2 separate regions of the Homo sapiens genome follow, and region 2 is linked to region 1. Evidence: promoter capture Hi-C in 16 types of primary human blood cells and fetal thymus (Javierre and others, 2016). All regions are on one chromosome and are shown on one strand. Each heading gives the region's core, a stretch centred on a gene start or on the middle of the fragment in contact. The rest is flanking DNA. Distances are from core to core; before and after follow the strand shown.

What was found. The method cuts DNA at HindIII sites, captures the fragments that hold promoters and counts their contacts. A CHiCAGO score of 5 or more calls a contact.
Region 2: a fragment that was not itself captured here is called in contact with the fragment with the promoter of SGCB in region 1 in 8 of 17 cell types (monocytes, naive CD4 T cells, non-activated CD4 T cells and 5 more); the score reaches 9.8 in monocytes.

Annotation. Positions count from the first base shown.
Region 1 is chr4:52,036,422-52,043,897 of GRCh38, reverse strand. It overlaps SGCB (sarcoglycan beta), which reads left to right and starts at 5,599. Exons shown (of 6, transcript NM_000232.5): 1 at 5,599-5,671. The coding sequence starts at 5,639. RefSeq lists a silencer at 5,387-5,826 and an enhancer at 6,067-6,186. The HindIII fragment of the contact is 11,224 bases long and covers 4,498-7,476 here.
Region 2 is chr4:51,844,577-51,852,054 of GRCh38, reverse strand. The region is part of intron 1 of DCUN1D4 (defective in cullin neddylation 1 domain containing 4); the gene reads right to left. Among named protein-coding and RNA genes, the nearest start is that of DCUN1D4, 5.2 kb to the right of the region's middle. The HindIII fragment of the contact is 2,714 bases long and covers 3,932-6,645 here.

The DNA of each region.
Region 1 (7,476 bases), core at 4,350-6,849:
TCTTTTAGTCTTTGCTGACCCACTTGCATAAAGTTGCCTTTAAATGCAATGTTTATCCAAGGTATTGCTTAGGCCCTTTGTGCTCAGAGGCACTTTGTTCTTGTAGGTAGCAAAACACTTCTTTGTCCACTTAAGTGTTTTCTAACCTGAGTGTTCTGTATTCTCCTTTCAGGAGTTCTGTTTTGTCCTTTTCTCTGCCACATTAAGGGAAAGGAAAATATTTTCTAAAAAACACCCATTGGAGAACAAATGAATTTATTGGGAACTGAGTGGGAGGCAGGTTCCCCCACTGACAGAAGGAAGAATGCTGTTTGCTGTGTCATACCAAGGAGCACTACCCACACAGAGCAGCAGTTCAGAATTTTTTTGTACAATTATTTCATGTGCACTATTGATTAAACTATAAAAACAAGAGGAAATTTTAAATATATCACAAGTGTATCACCTTAGCCCCTAAATAAACTATAGAACATTTGCAACAAATACAGATTAGAAGGAGAAAAAACCCAAGGTAGATGTAGTGTGATTTTGGAGAGCTGCAAAATATTTTTCCTATCGCAACCCAGGTTTCCATCATAGGTTTTTCAGAAAAGAAGGCGTCCTCACCCTCCATCTTTTCAGCTCTGCTAGCTAAATGCAATGGCAAGGTCATGGTTCTGTGAAAATCCCCCGAGGAGGAGTAAGCTCAGGACATATCAAGCTATTGCAGAGACACAGTGGATATGGTCTACCTTGCAAGATGTCCTTAAGCACATCAGGAGAGGGATATGGGATAGCACGAGATAGTCCCTAGGATGAGTGATGTTGAAATAGATCCTTTTCAGCACTTTTAATAAACATTTACTGGATTTCTAGTGTGACACAACCATCTGCCTTAAGCATGGACAGAATTAAGCTCAGTCTCTGTTCCCTAGAATCTCATAATCTATTCAAGAAAGAGAAAAGCAACCATACTTCAATGTTGTCAGTTAGAGTAGATAAACGTTCTGCGGAAACAATGACTCCTCCTTTGCCTCCTTTCCCATCTTCTGAAAAAGGATCAGGGAAAGTCATAGAAAGGTAATGTTTAGAGCCTGTTTTGGAAGGATGGAGAGACGTTCACCAGGAAGAGAAGAGCAACTTGAAACAGGAAGAATCATAGCAAAGAGGCATGAAATTGAATGGAGGGGCAGAAAATGACAAATAGTAGTCCAATGTGACTACAGAGTAGTCAGGGAATCAGAGACAAGACTGCAAAGATAGTCCTGGTTTCAACTATGATGGGTCTTATGTATCAGGCTAAAGGAATTGATCTTTATTTCATAGGCAGTGGGGAGGCAGCAAAGGGCTGTAAATAGAAAAACTGTATGATTGGGTCTCTTTTATATCACATTGGAGGTCACAGAGGTTAAGTATGGAAGGGGCAGAACTGGACCCTTGAAAGAGCACTTAGAAGACACAGAGATGAGGGTTAGTCTAGTGGCCTTCTCTGGGGTATGGTATGGTGAGCATTAGATACCGATGTCAGAGATACTTAGATGCTAGTAATATTTTTTACCCAATAGAAAAAATTAATTTAATATTCATCAGAGCTATTAAGTATGTATTATATACTTGGTTCTTAATGTGTTCAGGACTTAGAGCAACATGGAAAATAATAACACATTACCTCTGCTTTGTAAGGAACTCAGTCTAATCAGAAGCAAACTGTATATGCATGAAAAGTAAAGTAACAAGATACTGCACTAAGTATCAAATGGGTGTTACAGCAAATTAGTGCAATAATAGTTAAAAGGAAAGAGGAATAAGGACTGGCTGTGATTGTCAGGAGGAGGTAGGACTGAGGTTGGTTCTGAAAAATGGGAAGAATCTGGAGAGGCATGAATTCACAGATAACTAAAACAGATGGACAAATAAATAAATTTCAGTATAGTGTGATGTGACAATAGCAGCATGCTTGGGGATCACAGAGAGGTCCACACAAATCAGAAATGTATGATTGGGAGAAGGTTTAAGAAAGGCTTTTCAGAAAAGATATCCCTTGATCTGAGTTTTAGTGGACAAGTAGAGACAGCTAGATTAAAAGGAGAAAGAGCCACATATGCAAAGGAACAGAGCCATTAAGAACTTGAGTTCGGGCAAGCAGATGGGGGCTGCAAATATTGCACAGGGATAAAGGGATAGATTACTTTGTCTCTGATTCCCTGACTCCTCTGTAGTCACGTTGGATGTGTGTGTGGGACAGGCAGGAAACAAGGCTAGAAAGGGGCAGAAGGACCAAAAGTTTCTAACCTTTTGGTGAAGGACCAAAATTTGGTGAAGGACCAAATATAAGGAGCTTAAATTTTATCATGAAAGGTATTGGAGTATGGTAAGCTTGAGGGTGAGGAGTGACATGATCAGATTTGTATTTTAGAAAGATCATTCCAGAAATAGTATAGAACTACTTTGAGGTGTCTGACTAGATGGTGATATCATTCACTAAGGGAACACAGGAGGACCAGATTGGGAAGAAAGGTTTTGAGTTCAAATTTTTCATGTGTTGAACTTGAAGTGTGTATTTGTAACACACAAACTTGGTGGCTTTAAACAACAGAAATTTGTTGTCTTACAGTTCCAGAGGTTAGAAGTAAGAAATCAGAGCCTTCTGGAGGCTCTAAGCGTATATCTGCTCCATCCCTCTTTCTTAGCTTCTGGTAGCGGTTGGCAATTATTGGTATTCCTTGCCTAGTAGAGTGATCACTCCAATCTCTGCTTCTATGTTCATATCATCTTAGTGTATGTTGCCATTCTGTCCTCTTATAAGGATAAGGGCTCATCCTAAATTCAGAGTGATCTCAAGATCCTTAAAAACATCTGTCTTAGTTCATTTGGGCTGCTATAACAGAATATGGACTAGGTGGCTTATAAACAACAGAGCTTTATTTCTCACAGTTTTGGAGGTTGGGACATCCAAGATCAACATGCTTAGAGATTTAGTGTCTGGTGAAGGCCTGTTTCCTGATTCATAGATGTCACTGTGTCCTCACATGGTGGAAGAAACAAACCAATTCTCTTGGATCTATTTTATAAAGGCACTAATCCTATTCATGAGAACTAATCATGAATAGTGATAGCTAATCACCCATCATTTCCTTCTATGATGTGAATGTGTCCCCAAAAATTCATGTTCGGAAATTTAATCTCCAATGCAACAGCATTGGGTGGTGTTGCCTTTTGAGAGCTGTTCAGGTCATAGGGGCTTGGCATTCCTCCCCTCAGGATGACAAGGTGTTCAAGGTAACATCCTGGAAACAGAGACCAGACCCTCATCAGACAACTGAACCTGCTTGGACTTCTCAGCCTCCAGAACTGTGGGAAAATAATTTTTTGTGCTTTATAAATTCTTCACTCTCAGATGGTCTGTTATAGAAGCACAAAGTGGACTAAGTCAGCTTCTAAAGGCCCTACCTCCTAATATCATCACACTGGGGGCTAAGATTTCCACATGTGAAATATTCAGGGGAGACACAAACATTCATTCTATAGCAATCTGCAAAGACTCTGTTTCAAAGTAACACCACGTTCACAGATACTGGAGGTTAGGACTTGGATATGCCTTTTTGCAGGGCACTATTCAAACCACTGCAAAGTGAACAAAGGTGTAAGTGTCTTCATAATCTGACTCATACTCCAGCCCTGGGGACCTGTGTTTTGTGCTTCCAAATGCTAATATCATGCAACAGTCAAAAGAAAGAGCAAAATTAAAGGCTGTGATGTATGGTAGAAAGAGCAAAGACTAGTCAGATGGACCTAGATTCAATACTGGCTCTTTAGGAGTTGAAAAGATGGTCAGCCATTTAACCTCTACAAGCCTTGATTTCTTCATTTGTAAAAGAGGCATTGCCAGGCACAGAGTTGACTTTAAATGTCATTATTTCAGGGGAAAAAAGGCTGACAATAGTACATTTGAAAATAACCCACATTAAAATGTGGTCATGTGAGTGAATTGGATCTCTTTAAAAGAGAATAGAAATTGGCATTAAGAATAGTGGGATGTCCTGTCAGAGATGGACATCAGCGATGAGGAAAGAATCCAAGAGAAGGTGATATTCAAATAGCCAAAGGAGCATTTGGTTTCAGGAAAATTGGCTACCAGGTATCTCACCACCTAAGTGGGAGGGAGGTTGGCAAAATCAAGTCAGGGCTTAGAAATTGGGATACTGGGCAGATTTCTAAGATATCTATTAAGTTTAATTACTGTGCTAGACATTGGAGATTAAACGATGAGTAAGACACCTACCTTCCAGATAGAACACACCATCTTTTGAATGAAATCAGCAGGTAGACAAGATAAAAATACAATGCAATCTGAAGTGCTAGAAAAGGCTAGGCACACAGTTAAGGAACAGATCTGTGGGAGCCTCTGAAGCCTTTAGAGAAAATATGACGTTTGAATAGAATAGTTCTTGAAGGATGAATAAGAGTGCGCGTGCCAGGGAAGAAGAACTTTCCCAGCAGAGAGAAAAACGCAAAGCTTAGGAATTAAGGACTAGAAGATAGGAACTCAGAATCAGTTAAAAGCCCAGTTGTGCAAATTGATCAATGAGACCACAGGCAGAATATTAACACAGAGCCTTACTGCTGACTCCTGCATCATTGGGCTTTAACTTAGAATTTTCCTGCCTAAAATGCATGTTTGTCCCACAGACTCAGAGAGGAGTGAGTCTAGAGATATGAGTCAAGTGGTTCCAGCATTTAGGAAAAAAGAAATGCAGAGAGACTGATGACCAGCTAGGTACTGACTCCCACTGAATTAGACAGTACTAGGGCCCAAAGGTGCTTATTAGAAGTGATTCAGCTACATGAGGAACAGTTGCTATTGACTTCACTGCATTTTTTTTCAGCTAAAATAATTATTGGATTATATCTACAACAGGGAACAATGAATGTCTACTCAAGTAACTCGTACATTTGAGTGGCTTCCCGGTGTTCAGTAAATGTCCGTTCAATTAGGTTCCCGAGGATATACATGGTAACACTATCTCCAACACTAAATGAAAAATCCATCCCCAGTATCGCAGGATAAAAACATCAGACTTCATAGGCCTCCGAAGTCAAGCAGCCCGAAGGATTCAACGTCCTCCTTGAGGACTCTCAGTCTTCAAGACTCCAGCCACCTAAGTGACCACTCGTTCACTTCTGCCCACGCAGTCACCACGCCGGTCCGCGTCCACTTGTGGTCTCGATATCGGCCCCTCCCACCCTAGCCAAGGAGACCTTGGTCCGAGAAACAAAGAGAGCCTCACAGCTCCGGATGGCACCGATCTTTCAGCGATGGGGAACAAAGGGGAAGGGGAGAAGCGTCCTCGATTTTTGAGGGTGCCCTTTCTGAGGAATCTGCAGGCGGCCCGGGGTGGAGCGGAATCCCCATAGGCCCCTTCTGGCCCCTGTGCAATACAACGCGCCCCAGGCCAAGGTCCTAGGTGCAGGGGCCGCCGCAGAGCCTGAGCCCGCAGGGCTGGGATGCGGGTCGTCAGGGATGCGGGCTGGGGAGGGGAGGGTGTGAGCAGCGGGTGCCCCCAGTCCCCGCCAGGGCGCAAGCGCAGGCGCGCAGGGTGCGGTCGCGGAGGGGCGGGCACAGTCGGGCGGGGAGCTCGGCGGCGGCGGGCGCGGGAAGATGGCGGCAGCGGCGGCGGCGGCTGCAGAACAGGTCTGTGAGTACCGCCGCGGCCGCGGGCTGGAGGAGCGGGGGAGGCCGCGTCCTGCCGGCTGGGCCCGCGGGAGCCCTGGCCGGGGGTGCGGGGGGCGCGGGCCGCAGGGTCTGGGTTCGGCGGGGCCGATCGGGGCGGGGCGGGGCGGGAGGAGCTGTGCCCCGCCGAGGATGCTGGCACAAGCTAGGGACCAGGAGCCAGGGGCGGCCTCGGGCTCGGCCCGGCCTGGCTGATCCTCGGAGGGGGTGAGGAGGGGTCTCCTTCCGGAGAGCCTGGGAGGCGGTCGAGCCAGCCTGGAAGCCTGCGCTGGGACGTGCCAGGGACGTACCCCGTTCAGCCGCCAGCAGAGATTTGGATAAAAATAACCGCAGCCCCAGCGAGAAGGCTCCTCTTACAAGAAACGGGTCAGCTGTTGCCCCGGTGTCAGCTTGCCATCTTTGTTTTTTGTTTCTGCCATCTCCAATATGCAGACATCCCAGATTTCCCCTCACGCTTTGGTTTTTGAAGATTTAGTCACCAGTCTAAAACTATCTCCTGTTCACTTTTAAAAATGATTTATCCAAGATTTCCTGACCTGCATTGTAAACTTGTAACTTAGAATGGTTTAAAAGGCTCCTCATCCCCCCAAAATCTAGTTATACGTATGCATACATGTACATGCATATGTGTGTGTGTTAATATATACATACACGTAATCGCTAGGGTGATTTATTGTAATACAGATAATTTTCAGTAACTTTCCCCCTTACCTAACTTACTTTTCCTTTGAACAATTATAGTAGTTTCTCTTTAAAAAGTCTCATTCTAAAACATTGTTGAAAAAAATGAGTCAAGTTTTGACCTTTGGAACGATTTTCTTAGATAATTAACTTTTTAGAGACCTATTAGATATATGTCACTGGAGGGCTCATTCTGAAGATAAAAGACGTAAAATCTCTCTTCAAGGAGCTTAAAGTCATACAGCCAAATACATGCAGAAAAAATCAGCTAAAGACAATAGGCAGGCTGCAGATTTGTAACAGTAAAATAAAACATAGAGGAATGAGTGAAACTGAAAGGAGACAAAACTTCTTGGAGTTGGTATTTAAATTGTGCCTTGGCTTTCCTCATTTCCCGCCTAAGTTATCAGCTTCTGTTTCAGATGATTGTTTTTCCATCTGGTTCTATTTTTGCTTTACACATAAGTGGGGCAGTCTGATCCGTTACTCAGTCTCCACTTCAAATTTACGCATTACGTCTCCAGCCCTGAACTTAACTGAATTTTCCATAGGCACCTCAAACTCAAAAATGTTCAAAACTGGACTCTGTCATACTTACTATTAAAAAGGCTACAACCATCCATTCACTTGTTTAACCTAGCCAGAAACTTAGGACCAAGGCCATTTTAAGGGAGCTGAGAAGGACCTGCACTTGGTTTAATGTTCTGCTGTCCTGGGCTTGAGATTTAAACAGTGAGCCCCACATTTTCTTTTCCCCCTGGGCCCCACAAATTATATAGCCAGTCCTATTTGGGAGTCATCTTCGACCCCTTTGTGCCACACTCATATCCAAACAATCACGAGATCCTGACAGTTCTACCTCTTAACACCTTTCCCCAGACTTCAGCTTCAAAGTCAAACCTCAGTCAGTACCTCATTGGGACTCTTAGAGAAACCTGCTGTTGATATCTTCACTTCTAGGCTCTTCAGTTCCAGTTCATCTCTTTTTGGAGTGATTTTACTACAATGCAAATCTGATTGTATAGGAAACCTATTTTAACTCTTCAGTAGTTCCCCTTTGCCTTCAGGATAAAGTCCATTGTTCT
Region 2 (7,478 bases), core at 4,039-6,538, 190 kb after region 1:
GCATCATTCATAGGCCAGTGACAAAAGAAAAAAAAAGAATTCCAATATACATGCAGTGTTCCAATCAGGGTTCAATGAAAAGCACAAACAAAATGTTAAGAATGATTTCAGTGGCAGTAGAGGGTTACCAAGACCATGGAGTCAGAATGCTTGAGTTAGAATCTCAATTCACCACTTATAAGCTGTGTGACCTTGAGAAGGGGAGTTAACCTTTCTACACCTCAGCGTCCTCATCTGTGAAACAGAGATAATAACAGTCCCTAACTTATTGAGGGTTGCTGTGAGGATTAAATGAGTTAATGCAGGCAAAGCAGTTGAAGCAAATCCAAGATCATCACTGAATTCGTGTTAGTCCCTCCCCATTCCCCTTTGCTCCTCCTCCCTCCCTGTGCCCCACCTGGGACTTCTCTTTCCTTCTCTCAGTTCCTTTCCACTCATACACTCTCCCTGGTGCCTCTTTTGAGTTCTTCCCACCGACCCCACCCCACCCCTGCCACCAGCTCCTGCCTAGCCCTGCACCTCACCTTCCCCTCCACTCTAGCCTACCAAACACCCACTCTCCTGCCACAGTTCTCTGTCCCCACCATGCCATGTTGTCGCTGGGCTTGGAAAGCTCCCACCTGACCCCATATGCCACCTGCACATGCATACACATCCTGTTCTTCACATAATCCAACTTCAAAAGCTAAAACTCACATGACAACTGCTAACCATTCCCCACATGTTCTCAAAGCCCCCGGGGCATCCATCTAACCTAGCAGGCATCATCGTCCCATGCATCCATTCCTTCTGTCTCCACAATGAACTCACTGAAGGAAGCTCCTGAAGCCCCGGTCTCCCCCACACAGTCCTGCCTGTGACAGCAGCACCTGGCAGCAAAAATCCCCTTGAATGTTTGCTGAATGGCTGAGTGAGGGAATGCCTCATTTGGTTCTGTTCTTTCTTATAACTTTTCTTCTCAAGAGTGATTTTTTAAAGGCTACCTAGGAGACTGTCATCACACAGTAATTGTAAGCATCAAAAACACTTTACGTGTTTCATCTCATTTAATCCTTTGGACCACTTATGATTTTTGCCTCCTACTTTCTTCCCTCTGCCCTCCCCCACAACTCTAAGCACCCCAGCCTCTGCTGTTCCTCAAATATAGGCCTGCTCCCCACTCTGAGCTTCTGCATTTGTATTCTCTCTGCCTGGAATGGCCCCTCAGCTCCATCAGGGCTTAGCTTAAAACCTCCTTAGTGAAGCCTTTCCTGGCTCCACTATTTAAAATTACAACACCCTCCACCCCACCCCACGCCCGCACACAGGGGTGCCTGCATGCACCCCTTCCCTGCTGTTTTTCTCTACAGAACCTATCACCATCTGACGTATTACACAATTTACTTGTTACTATCTGCCCCCTCCCCTACACTAAAAGGAAAACTTCATGAAATATGAAGAGCAGGGCCTGGTACATAGTAGATACCCAATAAACACTTGGTGACTGAACAGCCTTCAACAGGCAATTTTTAGGCATGAGGGCTCTGAAGCGCACACAGAGCAGCTGGGTAACTCTACTCCAGTCCCTTGGCTAGGAGATGACAGAGCAAGGATTTGAATTCAGCCATTTTGGCTTTCTTGCCTCCCAACCTGACCCAGATAACAATTAAAAGACATCATCACATCCAGGGAGAAAACCCGAGCCCTGCATGTCTACAGGCCACAGAGAAGCCAGAAAAGCCATCCACTGGAAAGCCGCTCACCAGAACAAGTCATCTAACTCAAGACACTTCTGTGCGGCAAAGTATTATTTATCAGACTGATAATTTATACAGCACTGATAGTTTTTCTTTGGATTTCATAGTTCAGTAAAAACGAGAGATTTATCATGCCTTTATTATACTGTAATATCCTCAGGAACAGCAAAGTGACAAATCATCAGCTAATATGGAGGAGGCCTAAGGTAACATATGTTAAAAGCCAACAATTGTGGTAGTGGGGCAGGAGGAGAAGCACTGACTACAAGGGGACACAAGGGAACTTTTGGGGTAATGAAATGTTCTATATCTTTAGTAAATTCACCCAACAACACTTAAAATGAGTATAATTTTATAATACGTGAAATTATACCTAAATAATGTTGACTAAAAAGGTATTTGGTACATCAGATGTAATTTTTGGCTAAACAAAATAAACATTCCACTAAAACACGCACACACACACACGCACGCACACACACACATATTTCTGTAGCTAATATTCCCACATCAGAGCCAAAAAAAAAATGCACAAGGAGTTATGTATTAGCTCCTAGGCATCCCAACTTTTGGGGGACAAAGAATTAGGAAAAAGCAGCAGTAAAGAGTGGCACATGATGAGACCCAGTGGGCTGGGCTAGTGTGTGGTTCGGGAGTCCTGCCTGACCACCAGCAAACACAGCTCCCACGACCCACAGCTGATATCGACTGTGTCCTCCTCCAGTCCTCTGGGTCACCTCTGACCAGAATGTACAGGCAGCCAGGATGAAAAAGATACATCACTGCTCTTCACAAGGGCTTCTACCACGTATCTGACCAGCGACAGTGACAAGTCTGGATGCTGAAGTATCAGAATTCTTAGTTGAGAGCATCAGAAACTAATTCTAGGTAATTTAAACAGAAAAGTGATTTAAAAAAAGGGGAGGCGGCTATTAGACAGTTCACAGAATCTCCCCCTGGCCATAACAATGCCTAAGGGGACACAGCAGACTGCATCATCATTGCAGCAACAACTAGACCTTGCCTCTAGAAGCAGCACAGCAGCCACCACTGTGCATCCCCCCAGAAAATGGCCACATGGGCTACTCTTCTTTCCTTGCCTCCAGCCTCAGGTTCACAGTCTCAGGCGAGTGTGTCTGAGAAGATCTGCCTGCCAGGGTAAGAATTCTCCAATCAGACCAAGAGTCAATGGACTGACAGTGTCCATTACAGACACTAATCATAAACTAATATGGAGGAGGCCTAAGATGACATATGTTAAAAGCCAACAATTGTGGTCGTGGGGCAGGGGGAGAAGCACAAATGGATTACTCCCCGTCTCTGCAAATCTACTGATACAGGCCAGCAAAAAATTTCACAAGGAAAAAAAAATCCTCGAAGGCAGAACTAAAATAAATCATACCACAGGTAATGCTATTTGAAGAGGGCAGGGGTCTTTTTCATATCTAGTGTTTTTTTCAGTACATTAGTTACAAATGACAAGCCTATCTTCCTAGATTGAACATAACTCATTAACAGCATTTTCTGATTAAAAGCAATTCAAACCTGAAGTAGCAGATACTTTGCTACATCTAAAACTGTCACACAATGATTGTTAAAATACCTAATTCTATTTAGAATGCATTTCAATGTTTTCCTTCTTAAAACACATTTTAAAATACATGTTCTGCTTAGAATACTTCTCAAGAGGTACTTCTCCTAATGTAAATTTCAAAAGAAAAAAAGCAAGCTATGAGAAGAATTAATACCAATTCGAGTTGACCAACTATAAAAATTTACCAGCATTTATGTCAGATTCATCAAAGAAAATTTTACTCTGTAAATCTGAAGAAAGACTTTCAGTGATCTCACTATATTGTTAACTTAAGAAATAAATCCTTAGGACCAGAATATGGATATAAAACAAAAAGAAGGGAAAAGGACAAACACTCTAGGCCCCTTAACATCAGACCTGTTAATGCTGCCTTAACCTTGTGCAGGTAGGACGCTGACACGAGAGACCAGAAACGGACGTGTGCACATTCACAAACACTCCTTCTGTTCCCTCAGCACATCACCAGCATTTTACTCTTTCCTTGAGAATTTCTCCACGCCACATTCTCTAAAACTGATATCTGCATGTTTGAAAAATATTAAATTAGTTTGCATACAACTGACTTTGTCTAAAAAATGCAAAGAATGAGTAGGTGAAAGCTTGTGTTCCTTGAAGAAAAATCTAAAGATAATGAAAGACAACAGGAACAGGAAGAATTAATTTTTCTAGATAATGCACAAGTTATTCAATAGTTGATCATTTAAGTTCAATTCAATACATATTTGGGTAGCTATGCAAGGCATCATGCTAGATGCTAAAGTGGATACTGGGTAAGACATGGTCCCAGATCTCAAAAAGGTAATAATCTAATTGGGGAGGGGAAATAAAAGTAAACAAGCAGCTATTGTTATGTAACATAAAACTGAGTAACAGAAGGAAGCACTGCTTCAGAGATTCCATGAAAGGAGAGTCTGCTAGAGAGGGAGCACAGTAAAGAAAAATTCTAAAACAGCAGCACTGAGGGCAGCTGGAGCCGGGTGCAGTGGCGTGCATCTATAACTTCAGCTACTCAGAGACTGAGGTGGAAGGACCCCTGAAGCCCAGAGTTCGAGTCCAGCCTAGGCAACATAACAAGACCCAACCTCTAAAAAAAAAAAAACAAAAAAGAAAGAAAAATGTATTGCTGGTTATTATAACACTGTAAGAAAGGCTGTCTCAGACATAAGGCCATGGCAATAGGTATGGGAAAGAGAGGCTGGGCATGGGAAGAGATGCAATCTCTCCTTGCCACTGACCAGGGAAGAAGAGGATAAGAAATGTCCAGGATTTCAGTGTGGGTTATTAAAATTACTGCAGCTTCATTTACCAAATGAATAAAATTTATTAGTTTTGTTCTCTTCTTTGACTATTAAAAAGCTCAGTGCCAAATATTTCTAACATATGGCAAGTGTTTCTGTGTACCTTACAAGTCTATATATAAATTTTTCTTCTCTTGACAGGGTTTTATCTATATTTAGCAAGTCACCCCTAATTCTTTTAGAATAAGGCAGAAAATAAATCAACGTAAAGGTTGAGACCAAGCCAGAGACAGCTGGCCAAAGTAGCTGGTTCAGGGATATAACCTGCAAGTTGCCAACCCAGCGCATTCTTCTCACCCTTCTTCCACCCTACGAAAGGCCATATCTTACAAGAGATGCTGGTAAATGCCAGACATTCACTGTGTCAGGCTTCCTCACAGCTAGCAGTGGCATGAGATCAGTTCAATCCAATGACACTGAAATGGAACTCTCCAAAGTGAGTTTCTGCAAAAGACTTCTCTGTTAACAGGGAGTTATAAGGAAATATGCACCTTCCTTCCCTGCTTTCCAATCCAGGCATGATGTCTGGTGCTACGGCAACCATACTGCAAACATGAGGCAAATGAGCCTGAGGAATAAAAGCTAAAACACTAATAGAAGAAGAAAAAGATGCAGAACCTAGATCCTTAATGACATCATTAAGCCACTGCACCAGCTTTAGAACCAACTACTTCTAGGTTTCTTGCTACCGAACAATAATAAGCCCTATTATTTAAGCCATTAATTTGAGCATTGTATTGGCAAAGGCATCCTAACTGATACAAGAGATCATCATGAGGTCAGTTTCTCACAGGTTGATTTTTATACTGCTAAGTTAGCAGGATTATTAGCTATTAATTATTAGTTATAATTAGCAGATGATGATTGAGATAATAATGTAAACGTAGCCAGGAAGAAGGTAATAAGCCAAGAAGAGCTGCTGGGAGCAACTTAACATAAAAACAGAAAAGGAGACAATGATAAAGTTTGAAAAAACATGATTAAGTGCCAGTAGGGGTACACAGAGTTAACAACAGAGGAAGAAGAGAGTGAAGTCCACTAAGAGAAAATGAGGCAGGCCTTCTTTTCTGGCAATGTTACAGACAAGATTACCTAAAAATCCTTCTTAATATAAAACAGTCAAAAATTCTGGATAACGTGTAAGAAACATCTGTTTAAATGCACAGCTACGTTCACAAGAAAATAAAGGACCTCCCCAAGCGCCAAAAATCAAAAAGGAACCTAAAAACCAGAGCAGAAAGTGTGTAGGAGCCTAGGGCTTTGGGGAATGGAGGGAGGTGGGCTATATGTGTATAAAAAGCACCTGCCCTTTGGGATATAATAGAACAAAAGAAAAAGAGAAAGCTATGACTAGCTTCATATTTTCTTTAAAAACACCATTTTGAAGACAATTATAGCTCTTGCATGTTTTTCAACCTCATCACTTTACCCTCTGCAAGAAAAAATTCCAGAGTTAAGTGCACATTTTTGTACATATTTTTATATTACCAAGAGTTTCCTGGATATTTCACCACACGATTAAGTAAAATATGACAGATAGATATAAATGATCTCCACAAGAACACCACACACATTGCCCAATTTTTCACTCATCATGAAAAGAACCATCAAACAATCAAGTATCCAAGTTCAGTATGTTTGTAACCACACCAAAAGGTTTACAAATCTTAGGACTTCTTGGTAATATTTTTATCATCAGAAAAATTACAATATTCTTCTAATGACTATGTTGCAAGTAGTTTCATAATACCTTATATATTACATACAAAAATCTATCATCTCTGCATTAATCTTAGCCTTCTACATTACAGATTCTGGAGTCCCTTCCCTGTAAACAGTAAAGGGAACTGGTGAAGGATGTGACGTTTAGGGAGTCTACTTATGGAGAGGAAGGTTTCTAGTATTAAGGAGAGAAGGAATTGCAGCCTGCAGCTAATAATAAAACAAGCAAACAAAAAAAGTCTTATGGTTCTCCACTTTTTACAGTTTTCTTCTATTCTCATTTGCTTTCCAAGCTTCTTCGAAAATTGAAGACGTCACATATTACCTTTGCTCACCTTCACATTTCCACCCTAAATTCCACTAACCCACCTCCATCACTCATTTCAAGACAGTTATTTTTTCAAACACCCCAAGAAATACCAACACATAGTTTATATTATCGTTACAAGGGTTACGTGTACCTCCACTGTGTTCTCATATTTATGCAAGGGAATGCTGGAACCCAGTGCTTACACACACTGGATGCCAAAATTAAATACACCATTCTAAAGGCTGCTTTACATTGTGTTGCTTCTTAAATGTTTTCCCACAACCCGTGCGCATGATGGTACAAGACCAAGCATTTATTCCACAAGTAAGGCCACAAAATGCAGGGGGAAATTCACTTGGGGACCAAGAACCTAAGCGTGAAGAGGGCTGCGCCTGGCGTGGGCTCTCCCTCTCCCAAGGGAGAAGGGCTGGGGAGTCGCTCCGTCCCTGGGAACTCAACCGCCTCCCGAGAGCGCGCAGGAGCTGGCCGGGGAATAAAGCACGAGTTGGCCGAGCAGGAAGGCTCCAAGGGCGCGCTGCATGCCGGGACCCGTTTCCACAGTTACCCACGTGCACCCAACCCAACCGCGGCCGGGCGCGGCCGCGACTACAAGTCCCAGAATTCGGCGGGACCGCCTTTCCCCTTCATACCCGTTGACTGGAGACAAACCCTAAAGGAAACCCCTCAAGCGCCCTCCCAGCACGCCTGGGAGAAGTCGCGCCCCCCGGGCGTGGGGCGCGGCCTAGGGCCCGGCCATCCCTCTAAGGAAGCGGGTTCCATGGCACCAACCCCCACACCTGATAGCCAGAAATTAGACA